2 separate regions of the Homo sapiens genome follow, and region 2 is linked to region 1. Evidence: promoter capture Hi-C in 16 types of primary human blood cells and fetal thymus (Javierre and others, 2016). All regions are on one chromosome and are shown on one strand. The core of a region is centred on a gene start or on the middle of the fragment in contact, and the rest is flanking DNA. Distances in the headings are between cores, read along the strand shown. Region 1 holds the start of GOLT1A (golgi transport 1A). Region 2 has its middle 24 kb from the start of NFASC.

The links. Contacts are between HindIII fragments. The CHiCAGO score rates a contact against its expected background, and 5 or more counts as called.
Region 2: a contact is called between a fragment that was not itself captured here and the fragment with the promoter of GOLT1A in region 1, in 1 of 17 cell types (M2 macrophages). The highest score is 5.6, in M2 macrophages.

The regions. Positions count from the first base shown.
Region 1 is chr1:204,212,494-204,215,851 of GRCh38, forward strand. It overlaps GOLT1A (golgi transport 1A), which reads right to left and starts at 1,495. Exons shown (of 5, transcript NM_198447.2): 1 at 1,389-1,495. The coding sequence starts at 1,413. RefSeq lists an enhancer at 1,366-2,022. The HindIII fragment of the contact is 7,307 bases long and covers 1-1,864 here.
Region 2 is chr1:204,803,256-204,806,613 of GRCh38, forward strand. No RefSeq gene overlaps it. Among named protein-coding and RNA genes, the nearest start is that of NFASC, 24 kb to the right of the region's middle. The HindIII fragment of the contact is 331 bases long and covers 1,639-1,969 here.

The DNA of each region.
Region 1 (3,358 bases), core at 245-2,744:
AGGTGTGGTGGTGGGTGCCCGTAACCCCAGCTACTTAGGAGGCTGAGGCAGGAGAATCGCTTGAACCCAGGAGGTGGAGGTTGCAGTGAGCAGAGATCATGCCACTGTACTCCAACCTGAGCGACAGAGTGAGACTCTGTCTCAAAAAAAAAAAAAAAAAAAAAGAACTGGCTTCCCTGCTGCTGCCTTCATACCTCCACAGTCTATTCTCAACCCAGCACCCAGAATGATCTTTTAAACATAGAAATAGAACATATCACACCATAGCACAAAACCAAGGTCATTACCATGGTCTATAAGTCTCCAGTGTCCTGACCCCTCAGTGACATCCCTGACCTAAACTCCTATGATTCTCCCCTCACCTCACTTTGCTCCAGGTATACCCACCTCCTTGTTGTTCTTCAAACACACCAAGTATGCTAATGCCTCAGGGCCTTTGCACTGCCTGTCCCTGCTTCCTGAACATTTCCCCTCCAGAGAGCTGCGTGGCTTTGCTTCCTCACTTCCTATAGATCTCTGAAAAAAGATCTGAATAAAGGCTCACCTTCTCAGTGAGGCTTCCCTGACCACTCTATATAAAATAGCGACCCCTCCTACCTCGAACTCCATAGCCTCCTCTTGTTTTATTTTCATCTGGAGGACTTATCATCTTCTGATATACTATATACTTCTTTCTGTTAATTACCTGTCTCCCCTCTCTAGAATGTAAGCAGGGAGTCAGTTTCATTTAATGTTGGACACTCTATATCCAACACAGTGCTTGGCACACAGCAGAGACAAATCTGTTGAGTGAACAAAAGAATGTTGTCACCAATTCTCAGATGAAAAACCAAGGCTCAGAGGCTTTAAGTAACTCACCCAAATGAAGCCCACAGAGCCACGGTTCTTCCCATGGCCCCAGACTTGTTCCAAGACCTCCTCCCTACCTCTTCCCCCAAAAGAAGGGGAAGGATGTTTAGGAGTGAGGGTATGGTGGTTTGGTCAGGGGAGTGGAGTTTAGTTTTTTATAAGAAGCCCCCAGGGCCACAGGAGACCTTGATGGTGTGGGGAAAGATGTCTGAATGGGCAGAGGCCTCCTGAGTCCACCTTTGTGGCAACCCAGTTCTAAGAACCCGGGATGGGAAAGGGGTCAGTGTGAATGGGGAACCTGCCAGGCCCCCTGGGCACCAGCCTCTAGCTACCTGTGGGCCCTGAGCAACTCCCACCCGCTGGAGGGTAGGGAGCCACACCCCACCCTGCCTGCTGCCCCAGGGTGCCAGCACAGCATCTCCCAGCCCCTGGCTCCAGAGGTCACGCTTGTAGTGACAGAGAGCCCAGCTGGGAGAGAGAGCCAGCCGGCAGGGAGCCTGGCCTGGATAGCCCATTGCAGCCCCGCTCATCCCACTTACTCTGCCATTCGGTGATGGAGATCATGCCGCACTCAGCCTGGGGGGCTTTCCGGGTGGAAGCGGGCAAGTGGAGCGTGGCCCAGAGGACGCAGCTGGTACATGGTCACGGGAAGCTGACCCTTGGTTAAGTTGCGAAATGAGCCTGTGGCAAATCATTAACTCTCCCTCCAGCCCCCGCTCCACCCCCGCACACCACGCAGGTGCTTCTACTCGCCAGCTCCCTCCTCCCGTTTTCCGGTAGGGCAATGCCCCGCCCCTCCACCTGCCGCGCCTGCCCGGGGAAGGCACCGCCCACCTGACCCTTTCCTCGCACCTCGCGGTGTTCTGCGGCTCTCGTCTGCTCCGCGAAACTTAGATTGTATGTGGAAGCATTGGAATCTAGGGGGTGCTCAAGTTTCTTGCTTGGTTTGATAGTGTGGGAAGAGTTGGCATCTGCGCATCCCTTTGGGAATGTACTAAATTCATCTTGAAAGTCAAGCTTTTTGCTCTCTGCTATTGCACATGCTAGGCGCTGGGAGGCGATGAGCGACTGAGCACAAAGCCTGTTGTTGACCTAATGGCAGAGCCAGATCGGGTTAAATCAATGGCAAAAGCGCCATGGGGGAAGTTAGACGTGAAGGTCTTCGACCTCCTTTCCCCAAGCGGCGTCCAAGCTTTGGACTGACTGTGATGTTGAGCTATGGAAGACAAAGCCCTGAATTTGGGGTTGGGGCAGGACTGCACAATTTAGGAGGCCTGGTTCTAGTCTACCCACCAGCTGTGTAGACATGGATTCGTCCTTTGGGCCTGCAAAAAGAGAGGCAGTTAGTTCCTAACATCCTTTTTTCCCATCGCAGAGCAGTGGTTCTGACGTGGCATTGATGCCAGGAGAGCCAACATCCACTTTGCAATGTCTTCTGTGTCCAGAAATGAAGAAATGAATTTCAAAGACTACCTATATACATCATTTAAAAATGCAAATAGGCCTGGCATACAAAATGCATTATGTCTGTAATCCCAGCATTTTGGGAGGCCAAGGCAGGAGGATTGCTTGAGCCCAGGAGTTTGAGACCAGCCTGAGCAACATAGTGAGACCTTGTCTCTACAATAATAAAAATAAAAAATTAGCCGGATGTGGTGGTACCTGCCTGTAGTCCCAGCTACTGGGGAGGCTAAGGTAGGAGGATTGCTTGAGCCCAGAAGGTCGAGGCTGCGATGAGCTGTGATCAAGCCATGCACTCCAGCCTGGGTAGCAGAGCGAGATCCTGTCTCAAAAAAAAACAAACCAAACAACAACAACAAAACCAAGGAAAGCTAACATAATTTTTTAAAAAGAAACAAAAAGATAAATTATAATAAAACATGATGTCTTTCAATATATAAATGTTCAGGCAAGACTTACCAGAAGACATAAATGAAATAGGCAGATTGCTTGCACCCACACATAATATATGTTTGAATTTAAGAGAAATAGAAGATGAGCCATTCTATGCAAAAACAAAAATCACACACATGCAAGAAAATGAAAGAGTAGCAGGAAGTGAACATAGAATAAAAACTGTTAGATAAGGAATAACAGACCAGACGTACTTGCATATGATGAGAGGGAAAGCATCTTAATTGAAATAGGGATAACATAGCAAGGCAAATTAGAGAGCACAAGGTGGAGATAATATAGAAGTATGATGTGCATGCAAAGGAACTCAGTCTTAGGTATGTGTGTATTGTCAAAATAGCTCCCATGGAATGGGGTCGCCATAGAGTACCACAGACACATCAACCTCTGTCTTGAAACATATCAGCGTTGAGGTAAAATTCAGTCTCTGGGATCTTAAAAGGCCTTAGAGATCACATATTTCCAATGGGCAATGGGGGATAGAGGATGGATTGGGAAAAGAAAAGAAGATAAAAGTGGTTTAGAGCAATTGCATGTGGACACCCGGGACAGTGTTGTAAAGACAGGACACAACATTTCCACACATAATTATGAC
Region 2 (3,358 bases), core at 554-3,053, 590 kb after region 1:
CCCTGGAGAGCAATCAGGCTTGGGCATGAGGGTGCTCCTGCCCAGTGGGATCTTTTCTGGGGAGCATCAGCAGGGTAGAGCTCGGGCTAGCCTGGCCATTGGAGCCTGTGCCCAGCCTGATCTGGAGAGGGAACTGGAGAGGAGAGTGCTCCCTGGAAGGGAGGAGAATGGCTTCCAGCTGGACTCTTGATGAGGCAGGATTTAGTCACCCCAGAGCCCCACTTCCAATCCTCTCCAAACCTGCACGCTGAACTGCTACCTCTCCCTTCAGGGTCTTACACTCTGCACATCTATTTTACCAGGATCTAAACTCATTCCTTTTGCACCTTTGATGAAACCGGTCTCCTTTCTCCGACCTTGGACAGCTAGGCTGAGAAAAGGGAGAGAGCAGAGTATCCAGGCTGAAAAAGACTAGCTGTGTGAGCTGGACTGGGAGCCCCAGGCTCTCATTCACCTTTAAACCTGAGCCAGAGAACCATCTCCTCCAGAAAGTCCCTCATCCCCCCACCCACAAAACCAGTGCAATTCCCCCACCCTCTGTTCTCCTAGCACCCTGGTCAGCTCCCGATCGATCACTGCTAACAACATTGCATTAATTTTGTTCATGTGACTGTTTTCTCCAAAAGACTGTAAGCTCTTTAAGAGCAGCATCTGCACACTGTTTGTCTATCTTTGAACTCAGAGTGCTGCCAGGGTTCAACACATAACTATTCATAAATATATAGTGAAAGTTTCCCTGAACTTGAGAAGTTCACAAAGGAAAATTTAAGCCTCAGTGTACACATATTCATGGTTAAGGTAGGGGTGGGATTAAAGTGCGGTAAGAAAGAAGAGACCTGCCTACATTTTTACATTTTCCAGGGGGCTGGTAGGATGAAGCTGAGGAACTGGGGCTGCAATGATGGAAGAAGGTGCGGGGTTCTGAACTCCTGGGCACACGACCAGCTACAGGCCACTCCCTCTGCCTGTGTGTTATTTCCACAGTGGGAGAGGACCATGGTCTTGTGGCATAGAAAGCAACTAGACCTCCAGGACCAAGTGTTAGTATCCACTGGGTGACCAATAAAAGCAGTAGTGATGTTTTTCTGTGTTGAGTGACCTTCCATCCATCACCTGGGAACTCAAGATATCTCTCTGGGGTTCCCACTCTGCTCTCAGCACTGAGCCACCACAGAGATGAGCAAAATCCAGGCCCCTACCTTCTAGGAGCTCCCGGTGTAGCTGGGGTGAGACTCCTAGTGCTTTGATGGGAAATTTGCCAGGGTATAATTACAGAATGCATTGTGTGGTGTGACCATGAGTGTTCTGGGAGGTCAGGGAAGACAGGAATGACTCTTTACCAAAGGCAGATGGCATTCTTGGTGATAGAAAGAAGTACAACACAATTCTCATGGTAGATGTAGACAAGCAACAAACGCACAGAGCAGCATAAATAGAAAAGAAGAAAGGAAGGAAGAAAAAGGAAAAAAGGCAGGAAGCAGGAAGAAAGAAAAGGAAAAAACAGAAAGAAAAAGAAAGGGAAAGAAGGAAGGAAGGAAGGGAGGGAAGGAGGGAGGGAGGGAGGGAAGGAACATTCCACAAGTTACATGTTGACAGCAGGGAGAGGCCACCTCTATGGGCTTGAGAGAAGGAGTCAGAAGCTTGAATGAGCCTTGAAGAAAAGAAAGTATTTAATTAGGGAGAGAAATGCAGAAGCAGCAGGGCAGATCCAAAGATACATGGGTCACTGAAGAGATGGGAATGTGGGTGCTTGGTCTGTGCCTAGAGACTTGCCTCCCTGTCAATGAATTTTTTTGAAGAGTTTGAAGTTAATGCATGCACACCATAAAGAATTAAAACAGTGTAAAACTAGTATTGATTGAAAATCTAAGCTCCCTCCCAGCCTGACTCTTGGCCCACAGTTCCCTTCTCATGTTAAGCTGGTACCTGTCTCATGGGTTATCTTTCCAGATATTTCTAGGGATATAAAAGCTTATATTTTAATGCAAATAGCCACATACTACACATAGTGTTCTATATCTTGTTGGTTTTTTTAAAGAGATGGGGTCTTGCTATGTTGCTCAGACTGGAGTGCAGTGGCTATTCACAAGTGCAGTCATAGGACACTGTGGCCTCTAGCACTTGGCCTCAAGCAATCCTCCCATCTTGGCCTCCCCAGTAGCTTGGACTACAAGTATGTGCCACAACACCCAGCTTGTTGATCTTTTCCTTACTGATTGGTAGGAGCTTTTACTCATTAAAGGAACCATTTGTTCATGATGTTGCAAATATTTTCTCACTCTGTCATTCATGCTTTTACTTTTTTATGGTGGTTTTTGCTACCATAGTAGAAATGTATGATCTGAGCTTATCAGTTTTTTCTTTTATGACTTCAGGGCTTGAACCATACTTAGATTGTGCACACTTCAAGATTATAAAAATATGCTCCCAGATTTTCTTTTGATACTTGTATAGGTTCAATTTTATTTTAAAATATTTGATTAGTGATCTAGTACTAGTTTTTCTTTTTGACTTTTGCTTGTTTAAATTTTTTATTTAATCCTAAATTTATTTTTAATTATTATGGATACATAGTAGTTGCACATATTTAGAAGTAGTTTCAATTTTAGGAATGATTCTGCTTTTTTAAGTTACAATCTATCTTGGATTTCATCCTTACCATTTTATGAAAGTCATCTCATTCTTTTTCACTGTGTTAATAGTTACTCTATCACATGGACTTACTATAATTCATTAAGTGTGGTAACTCATGACTGTAATCTCAGCATTTAGGGAGGATCACTTGAGGCTAGGAGTTTGAGGTCAGCCTAGGCAACATTAAGACCCCCATCTCTAAAAAAAAATAAAAAATAAATTAGCCAGGAGTGGTGGCACATGCCTGTAGTCCCAGCTACTCAGGAGACTGAGGTAGGAGGATCACCTGAGCCCAGGAGTTTTTCAGTGACTTATGATTGTGCCACTGTGCTCCAACCTGAGCAAGAGTGAGACCCCACCTGTTTAAAATAAAAGGGGAATAAGGCTGGAAGCATCACACTATCTGACTATACTACAAACGTAAAATGCACTACAAAGCAATAGCAATCAAAACAGCATGGTACTTACTCGCAGAAAAACAGACACACAAAACAACAGAACAGAATAGAGAGACCAAGAATAAATCTATGCTCTTACAGCCAACTGATTTCCAACAAAGGCATCAAGAACACACATTGGGCAAAGGCCAATCTATCCAATAAAGGGTGCTGAGAAAACTGGATATTCATATGCAGAAAAATGAAACCAGACTCCCTATCTCTCACCATGTCCAAAAATCAAATAGAGACGGATTAAAAACCAATGTAAGGCCCGAAACTGTGAA